Regions from separate parts of the Homo sapiens genome. Here region 1 is linked to region 2. Evidence: promoter capture Hi-C in 16 types of primary human blood cells and fetal thymus (Javierre and others, 2016). All regions are on one chromosome and are shown on one strand. The core of a region is centred on a gene start or on the middle of the fragment in contact, and the rest is flanking DNA. Distances in the headings are between cores, read along the strand shown. Region 1 overlaps ZNF451 (zinc finger protein 451). Region 2 holds the start of ZNF451 (zinc finger protein 451).

Region 1 (5,285 bases), core at 376-2,875, 42 kb after region 2:
TTTTTGTGTGATGGGCTCAGCTTTTTGCTTGGTCTCTGAGGCAATGTAAAAATAAAGTTTGGAATCTATTGCTTGAACAGCTGTGTAGTATTGGGCTATATTTGGTATGGTGCTATTCCATAAATGGGCTTTAGAGAGTGCTGAGATCCTTTAAGAGCATATAGCTGGGGAATAGAGAGGAATCACAGTTCTCTTTAATTATAGAGAGTGAGATTCTACTTCTCAGTAGCATTAAAGGACTCATTCAATCTATTTCAAAATACAGTACTCAGCTGTTATAATTCAGTTCTTTCATTAGAAGTATTTTAAGTACCTTATTTATAATTATTCTAATGTTGGACAATCCATTCTTTATGGGTTTTTAGAGTTGGCCAGTTTGCATAAATTTGAATACTTAGTATTATAATTTTTAAAAATGCTGTCTGTATTATTTAAGACAAAAGCTGTTTAAATCTCTGTATTTTGCCTTTCCATGGGGAAGCCTCCCCACCCCTCCACCCAGAAATTGGCTTCTCCAACTTTATTTTTATCCAGAGCCACTATTTATAGCTAAATAAAGGTCCTAATAGGAAACATCTGGAATGTGGGTGGACAATTATAACAGTTTTCATAATTCTTACTACATTAAGAATGTTAAAGTATATTGCCATTTTAATGCCTTGTTAAGACTAAAATATGATTAATTCCATGCTGTCCATTATTTGTTGTCAGAACATATTTATAAACATTTTGACAGTTTGATAGAGGTATTCCCCCAATAAAGACTAAAAGAGAGGAAAAGCAATTAAAACCTTAATCATATATAACCATTTTGGGATTTAAAAATCATATTGTCTTAAGGGAATAATTCTATTTAAATGCTTAGGGGCTTTGTAGAAAATTCAATAAAGATAAATATTTAGCTTTTTGTTGTATGAAATATTCAAAGCATTTGAGTGAAATTAGTCCACAAGAGATAGTAATAAAACAGAGAGTAATCAAACTGTCTGTGAATCAGAATACTTGTGGTTGTTTTGCAATTGTTTTTTATACAACTTAACTGTTTAAATTTTTCTTCATATATCATGCGTTGGGAGTTGCCCCGAGGACATTTGGCTGGGGGATTCATCTACAAGTTGTGTGACCTTAAGATCAAAATTATAAAGAAAGAAAGGGATGAAGAATGGACCAGGATAAAGGAGGATTAATTAAGAGAAAAAAATTGTGGACAAACTGTTTCCTAATTGGCTTTTTAAAGGGAAAAAGAGAAGGGACAAAATAGGATAAGTAGAAAGGGGAGAGGTATCAACAATAAGTAAATCTCTGCTTTGTGTTCTATAAATGTGTTATCCCTTACACTTGTATTACTTGATGTGTCTAGACTGGAACTGATTGATCAGTGGCTTGATTCCTCAGAAAATAACACACTTATCCTCCTTGCTTCCCTGCTTTCTTCATTCCATCCTCTCTACCCCAGTTACATTGTGTAATATAATTTTCATAGAGCTCAGACCCTCTATAATATAGCTAAATTTATAACACAGTTGAAATAGTTAAAAGAGAAAATAAGAATTAGAGGAAAAGATCTGGCTGGGCACAGTGTCTCATGCCTGTAATCCCAGCACTTTGGGAGGCCAAGGTGGGAGGATCACTTCAGGCCAGGAGTTTGAGACCAGCCTGGGCAACATTGAGAGACCCTGTCTCTACAAAAAATAAAAATATTAGCTGGGCATGGTGGCATGTGCCTATAGGCCCACCTGCTCAAAATGAAGGGAGTAGGGGCGTAACCTTCTAATGCATTTGGTCTTTAACATTTTTTAGCTGTTGAGCTTAAAGAAAAGGATTTTTTTTCCCTAAAGGGAAAAAAGCTACTTGGAGCTGGGCATGGTGGCGTGCTCCTGTAGTTTGAGCGACAGCAGGAGAATTGATTGAGCCTGGGAAATACAGCAAGATGCCCATCTCAAAAAAAAAAGAGAATGCTACTTGGTGATATTAAGGGCTTTTTTTTGGTCATAACTTATTTACTTTTAGGTTATTATATCTTTTATAAGAGAGGTTTTAAACAATTATAATTAGCATCATCCAGTTGATGCTATGTCATAATTTTCATTGTTTTGTCCTAATTTTGATCACTAGCCCAAAGGATAAGTATCTGAAATAATAACCTAAGAATTCATATTCTGATGATGCAGGACTCAAAACAGGCACAATTAATTGTGGAACAAAAAGTTCATTCCGAAGAGGAGGCCACACGTGGGTGTCTGGGAAACCAATTTTATGTCCTATAATGCACTGTAACAAGGAGTTTGACAATGGGCACCTTCTCTTAGGACATTTGAAAAGGTAAGTAGGATATTCATAATAGTGAATGCTGAAGATCTAGTGAGCTACCAAGTGATTTCATAAAATGAAAGCGTAATGCTCCTTTGCCATTATGATTATATAGCTTTATATTCCAAACTCAAATTATTTTGTGCCATTATGATATAATTTTTTCATAATTGATGAAGTCAGATTTTTCTAGTGGGTGTAGCTTTCAGCTTTATGGGTATAGCTTTTAAATATTTATTTTTCCCTGATACAGCTTATAAAGTTCTAAACAGACTTTCTCCATCAAAATCCAGATAGGTTAGTTTTAGAGAAATCCAGCCCATAAATGTAAATTTCAAGAGACAAGGAGCGTGTACAGACATTTGGTCTAGCCTGAAGAAAGGTAATAGGCATTACAAAATAAATGTTAAAAGCAAACTGATGTAAGCAAAATTAATAATAAAAATTCTATTTATTGAAACCCATTTTATCAATTTACTGAGTTTGGTGGTTTTTGTTTGTTTGTTTGTTTGTTTGTTTTTTTGAGACAGGATCTCACTCTGTCGCCCAGGATGGAGTGCAGTGCAGCTTCCACCTCCTGGGCTCAAGGGATCCTCCCATCCTCCCATCTCAGCCTCCTGAGTGTCTGGGACTACAGGTTGTGCGCCACCACACCCAGCTAATTTTTGTATTTTTTGCAGAGACGTGGCTCTGCCATGTTGCCCAAGCTGGTCTTGAACTCCTGAGCTCAAGCATTCTGCCCACCTCAGCCTACCAAAGTGCTGGGATTACAGGCGTGAGCCACCGCGCTCGGCCAGTTTACTGAATTTTTGAATAGTGGAGCTTGAGAAAGGTATCAAGGGAAGGTTGTATTAAACATTCGACTCCCCATAGCCTCCCTTTCTAATAGCTGAAGAATGGGAAATTGAGAGTTTGGGGCTCTAAGCCATTGTCTTTTCCATATGTCTCACCCTACTTATGCCTTACCTTATCAAGAGAAGCTTCTAGAGGGAGTTGTAGCATTCTATAAAAAACCAGGTAAAGTCAAAGCTGGACCTGGGGTCGGGGAGGGAACAAAATTTGATAGCATACTATACCTTAGCTAAAGTGCTCCAGGCAGTTTAAAATAATGCAGATTTATTAAATGGTAAAAATGAACATTAAAAGCCATTATGGGAAACAAGTGTACTAGAAATCTTAGCATGAGATTATTATTGCAGTGATGTATTTAAAGTTAGTTGTGAGTCTTATGGTAACCAAGGCAAGAAGTAAAAGATGCTGGACTTACAATTTTCAAACGAGAAGTTTACCAGTTTGGTAAGAAATGTCTAAATCTATTTTACCGGATATTTAGTACATATGAAATCTTGCACTAACTGTTGGTCACTATCTGAGGGAATTGCTGAGCATATGGGAACCACTTGATATTTACTGTATATGAAGAACATTACTTAATATTTCAGTAGAAAAGTGCAAAGTTCTGAATGTGTGTGTATGTGTTTAGCTTCACAAATGAAGCGACATAGTTGTTTCCCTAGAATGTAGATTTATCTAATATTACCTCTTACCTCTTTTGCTGAGTAGGTTCGATCACTCTCCATGTGATCCAACAATTACACTACATGGACCTTTCTTCAGCTCCTTTGCTTGTGTAGTATGTTATAAAAAATTTGTTACTCAACAACAATATAGAGATCACCTTTTTGATAAGGTAAGAGCATGTCCTAAATTAAAAGTATTATTTTTCTAGATAGCCATGGAGTTAAGTGGAGGTTTTTTCCTGCTGTTCTTAAGCTTGCAATTACCAGTGATACACATAAGTATCAAAACTGTAATTGTCAATTGAAAATAAAATGATTTGGGCCATTTAGTTATTATAGGCAGGTAAACTTGATACCTTACAGTCAGCAGTCCTAGAGATTATCATCAAAATCCTTTCATGGAGTTGCTCTATGAAATTAAATTACCTTGTTCAAGATGCTCTGAGTGAGTCACTTGATGAGAACCAGAACCCTGTTCTTAAGTCCACTGTCTTACACTGCTTGTTGAAATGTTGGCGCCATATAGTAAATGACAAGTTATTAATGCTAGTTTTTGAGGAATATAACTAGTATTTAAAAAGCTATGTCATATAATTCTAAGTAAGTGTTAAATCTTAAGAGACATGAGTTGATTCATGGATATGCACATCCATGTAATACAGAACTCTAATGGGTTTTTACCATATTTGATAGTAGATAACTTTAATGACTTACTAACATTGCAGAAGTAATGTATGTTCATTATGAAAAATTTTTAAAATATTAACAAAAAGACAAGAAGTCATCCTTAATCTCACAGAGATAAGGACTGGGATTAAGATTTTGATATATGTGTTTTTAGTATTACTCCATATATAGATAAATGTTTTTACATAAGATAAGATATCTAAATTGTTCTGTGATTTAAAGCAGTGTGTTGCAAACATAAAAGCTTAAATATTCATCGAATCAATGCATACATTTCTACATTTTAAATCATTGAATTGTTTTCTTCTGTATGAATATAGTATTAATTTAATAAATTTCCCATTGGATGTATTGTTTGTTTTCTATTATTAAAAACTATGCCATATTAAATATTCTGTTAACTAAAAACCTTTGAGAATATCCATATTTGGATATTTGAGTAAATATCAAATTGGATTTACCGAATAAATATTAGATTTTGAAATAGTAAAACATTTATTTAGTTAATGTTTTCAGAATTTGCTTCTATCTAGAGCTATACCTGGAAAGTAACATGGAGAATAGCTTGGATTCTGTGTAGGTTCACAGCAGAGAATTAAAGCTTGCATTCTAAGTATATCTAATTGAATTCTGCAGTCCTCCCCATCTCTGTCCTGGCACTAGAGAACATTCCCAGAACAGATGTGCATCTTGAAGCAGATTTTATTTTACACTGACTCATTAGTTTTTGGAGAGCCTGCGTCTTGTTCAACATTGACTAGGCACTGT
Region 2 (4,956 bases), core at 414-2,913:
TACAGTTACTGAGTTGTATGGTGTGAGAAGTTTTTGGGTCTAGCCACATACTGCTTGTTTTCCAAGAATTTTACCCATTAACTCCTGCCTCAACTGATTAAATATTAGAGGACACTTTCACCAGCCCACTAGGAAGAGCTTTTAAATACAAGTTTTGCCTACACATTAACGTTTTAAAAATATTTAATTTACACACAGCTTTTGAAGAACTCCCCATGCACGTCTGTCATTCTCAATTGGCTTCCACAAGTCTCAAACTTACTAGGTAGAAAGTAACTAAAGTCATAAAGCACTTGGTGGAAATGCAGGAAATGTCAAATATTAAACAATAATTACTACAGGCTTAGGCAATCAGATGGTAGTTTTGCATACAAACAAAAACAGGAATCTGAGATGTTAAATAATTTGTGTTTTTTTTTTTTTTTTTTTGAGACAGTGTCTTGCTCTGTCACCCAGGCTGCAGTGCAGTGGCATGAATTTGGCTCCCTGCAGCCTGGATCTCAATCTCTCGGCCTCAAGCGATTCTCCTACCTAAACCTCCTGAGTAGCTGGGACTACAGGCAAGGACCACTACGCCTAGCTAATTTTTGTATTTTTTGTAGAGACGAGGTTCCCTCTTATTGCTCAGGCTGGTCTCGAATTCCTGGGTTTAAGTGAACCGCCCGCCTCGGCCTCCCAGAGTGTGAGGACCCGCCTGGCCTAAAATAATGTTATCACTTAATTCTTTTCATAAACTTTATTGACAACGATTGGTGTGTTTTTTTAAAAAACCTTTTTAAATTTTTGGTAAGGTATTACCTGAGAACAGATTAAATGCATAGTTGAATATAAAAGATCTATTTTATAGACTGGTTTATGAGTGTGAACACACAAAAGGTTAAAAGGTCAACCTTACAGCAGTCTATAAATAGATCTCTCATATTCTCTCAGTATATCTGAGAATATTGAAAAAGTGCATTTCAAAATCACTGGCTAGGGTTTAGTGATAGTTAGGTAGACCTCGGTTCCCTTTCCTATTGGGCCCTGGATTTCCCATCCCTATTTTCTTCCTCAGGTGTATTAATACTGGCAGGGCCTGGGAGACTGACGCTAGGGAAGAGGTGTGTAATGTAAGGATACTTCAGATTCTTTCCTGATCCTAGGATTCAGCTAAACCTCCACATAGCCCCTGTCCTCAAAAATGAGTAAATACATAAATTTAAAAATGAAAGGAAAAAAAGAGAAATCCGTTCCCACCACCCACCTTCAGGGCTAAAACAGAAAAATCAATGAGCTGCGCTTCACAACCATACCAAAACCAAACAAATACCAACTCAAACCCTCCTTCACATCCTCCCACATCTTCCCAGTGCTTCGCTATCTCACAGGACCCAGCTGGCCCCTGGCTTCGCCCCACCCACTGCAGCTGGCGTCTTTTAGGCGCATGGTTCTTTTCCTCTCCGGCGAGGGGCGGTCTCGGGGCGGACCCGAACTACAATTCCCAGCATCCTGCGCGGCGCGGGGAAGGAAGCCCGGGAGTGAGAGAAAGCGGCTCCGGGGGCATAGCGGGCCAGTAAGGGCCGCTCCTCCTTTGAAGAGGTTTTGCGTCTCTTTCCGCCGGTGGCGTCGGCGCTCACGCAGGGGCGGGTCCCGGTAGCGCCAGGCGGTGCAGGGCGGGAAGGGGATTCGTGGCGACGGCGGCGGCAGGGACAGCAGGAGCAGTGGTGCTGTCAGCGCGGCCGTCGGAGACATGGGAGACCCGGGGTCGGAGGTGAGTAGTCGAGTGAGGGTCCTGGCGTTCTCAGAGGCGAACCGCGAAGGGTTTGTGTTTTCTGCGGTCTGAGGCCTGGTGCTCCGTCGCAGCCTCGGGGCGATACCTCTTCAGTGTCTTGGGCCGAGCCCAGCTCTGGGGCCTGGTGCGTGTCTGAGCGAGGAACCCGCAGCAACAATGGCCGCCCGGCCCCCCGCACGGGCCCTGGCGTTCGTTGTGGCCGCGGCTGGGCCAGTGGGAGCGACGTTTTAAGGCAGGATTGCCCTTCGGTGTTGAGCTTGCGTTCCTCCTGGAGTAGATAAGGGGAATTGTGAGAGGCTGGTAACTAACGCGTTTTCAGCGTTGGGTCCCTGCAGCTCCGCACACTCTGTGGCAAGAGCCAGAGCTCGAGTTCCGTTCCTAGTCGGGTTTCCGTGAAATTGTGCTCAGTTCGTTTTCCTCAAGAGCTCTCTGTCTTTAATTGTTCCTTTCGGAAACGCTCTCTTCCTACACGAATGTGGCTGAACAGATAAGCATGTTTTGGCTTGTTTTTATAGATAATAGAATCTGTCCCTCCAGCTGGCCCTGAGGCATCTGAGTCAACAACGGATGAAAATGAAGACGACATTCAGTTTGTCAGTGTAAGTAGCAATGATGATTGGGGTTTTCCCAGAGTAAAAGACTATGGTGGGCCATTATGTAATGTTACCTCACCTGGTCATTTAATGTTCATGAGTGTCTAATACATACTAGACACTGGAGCATGGCGCAGGATTGGGAAATTTACCAAAAGAGCTATCTGAGCCACCCCCGTAGCCATCACAAAGAGCACGTCCTAAAGAACGTGCTGTACACTTAATCTCGCCCCCTGCCTTTCATTTAAACTTAAGATAAAAACGCTGGTGTCTAAAACGCTGTTTTGAAATGGAGCAAGAGTAACTTCTAAAGGCGACACGGAGGAAGGAGCTGCTAATGATGAGCAAGGACGTAGAAAACAGGAAGGGTTGTGAGAGCCCAGAATCTTAGCGTTATGGTGCTTCTAACATGAAGGCAAATAGCTTGAAGATTTCTCTAACCTCTGAGATCATCATGTTACGGCATAGTACAGTTGATGCTCATAATGAAGAATCCTACATCACTGGGAACATGCTCTATTTTTCTGAGTTTGTTCCCTTTGAGACAGTAGTTTTCAAGCCTTAGTAAGTATAAACAGGCAGATTCCTGGGCCCCACTGCAGACCTACCGAATCAGAATTTCCAGGCGGGGGCCTAGGAATCTTCATTTTCAGACAAGTGCAGGGACATAAGGATTTCTGAGCACACTTTGTACAGCATGGGTTTCCAAAGCAGAAGAGAGTGTTTTATGATGTATTTTGGGGTGATTTTCTTCCATAATTATTGGAGTTTTAGAAAGGCTTTGCGTAAAGTGGTATCTCAGCTCGCCAGGCAGAAAACGGTTCTGTCCCCAACTCGTCTTTTGGAATGCCGTAGTTAGTTGCAGTTTGGTATTCAAGCTGTAGAATTTTTCGTTGAGTGTCAGATGTGCATTTATGGTGGATGCTGGGAAACCTTGTAAAATTGGTTATTAAACAGTTTCTTTCCCAGCATTAGGGCCATTTTGGTAATTCATTTTTGTATGGTATTTTAATAGATTTGTTTAGGAGTCCTTCACAAGATTGTTTTATTGAATTTCTTTCCCTTTACCAGTGTATGTTGTACTCTCTCCTTTTCATTTTGATCTTCTACGGATTTGGAGTAGAGGATGGGGGTGAATTGTATCCTGTCCTTTCCTTCACCATGCGCTGAAGTATGTTTAATAACAGGTTTCCATGGCTCTTGAGGACAGATATTTCAGGTTCTTCCTGAATCTTGGTATATTTGTGAAGAGAATTTTTTTCTTATGGTGTTTAGTAGAAATAATACTAGGAATGACATACTTCTTTATGAACTATGGCCCTTTTTGAGAAACACGAGTAGCATCTCTTAATATTTGAAAAATGTTTTGTGTAATGAATTACAGTGTAGCTTGTGACTAGTTAATGTAGGCTTGAGTTCACCTTTGGTTTAAAGGAGTCTTTAAATTTTATGTTGAATGTAGAGGATCACTTCCGTCTTTGCATCAAGAGTAAAGAATGTACAATCATTGAATATCTGACATGATACAACTTCTTACTCTTGTTCCCAAATAAAGGTTCAGAGGTTTGACAGTTCCACATGGAGAAGTGAATTATATGTTGTAAGTGTAATTACAATACTAGAAGAAGCCTATTAAAAATTTTCCCTTTACATTTAAGTGGCACCACTTACATGACAATAATAGCTTAATTATATTTCAAAATATATTCAGAGACAGAATCTTTACTTTTCTCTGGAATCCAATCCTATATGTGGCTCCTCCAGTCAGTAATGCTTATTCAGTAAAGATGAAAAAGTTTGATTTTTTCAGATAAAAAATGAGTATTGTGATGTTACTTCTTCGTTTTTACGGTTTGGATTTCATAGCTCTTACTAACCTAATTTTCCCACTTTTAGTCCACTTGGTGGCCCAGGAGTTATTCTGTGATTTGTAGAATACAGAATCTGAAACTAAACACAGCATGCTGAAGGAAAGGAGTGATATAGATATGGAGGGGGGTGCAAAAATGGGCCCTCTCATTTAAATTTTATTGAAATATACATAAAAGTGCACAATTCATAAGTATACTTGTTGGATAAAGTTTTGCAAAGCCTCATACATCTATGTAAACAGCGCCTAAATCAAGAAACAGAATGCTGCCATAACAAAAACTTCTTATTTAGGTCTGTTGTTCTTATTTCTGTTTAGTAATATGATCCTTTATTCAACTACTGTTTTTATATCTTTCTTTGAAATTGCAGATTTTTTATGTGATTTACTTCTAAAAAACTAATAGCTGATGATGTGATAGTTCACAGTGCTGTTCTAGATATGAAGGTATACAAACTGCTGAGGGAACCTATCGTAATTTTGCTAACAAAACAATACAAGAGATTCAGGTTTCAGCCAAGATTATTGATATAGTGTAGCATCATTGGAAGTCAGTGAAATCAGGATATAATTTCCTAAATAGCTTCAGTACCACATAGATCAAGTATTAATACTTTAGCTGCAGAAGGGAGTCAGGCAGAAAATAGTATTATTTGGCTGGGTGTCTTGGGGCTGTGATTGGTTTAATAAATAAAAAGTGTTGAAGCTCATAATATGCAAAG

What was found. Contacts are between HindIII fragments. The CHiCAGO score rates a contact against its expected background, and 5 or more counts as called.
Region 1: a fragment that was not itself captured here is called in contact with the fragment with the promoter of ZNF451 in region 2 in 10 of 17 cell types (naive CD8 T cells, erythroblasts, total B cells and 7 more); the score reaches 8.4 in naive CD8 T cells.

What each region holds. Positions count from the first base shown.
Region 1 is chr6:57,130,871-57,136,155 of GRCh38, forward strand. It overlaps ZNF451 (zinc finger protein 451), which reads left to right. Exons shown (of 15, transcript NM_001031623.3): 6 at 2,172-2,322; 7 at 3,874-4,000. The region is part of intron 2 of ZNF451-AS1 (ZNF451 regulatory antisense RNA 1); the gene reads right to left. Among named protein-coding and RNA genes, the nearest start is that of ZNF451-AS1, 39 kb to the right of the region's middle. The HindIII fragment of the contact is 3,325 bases long and covers 1-3,288 here.
Region 2 is chr6:57,088,525-57,093,480 of GRCh38, forward strand. It overlaps ZNF451 (zinc finger protein 451), which reads left to right and starts at 1,664. Exons shown (of 15, transcript NM_001031623.3): 1 at 1,664-1,750; 2 at 2,287-2,370. The coding sequence starts at 1,730. RefSeq lists enhancers at 1,333-1,482, 1,350-2,232 and a silencer at 1,653-1,722. The HindIII fragment of the contact is 8,135 bases long and covers 1-4,956 here.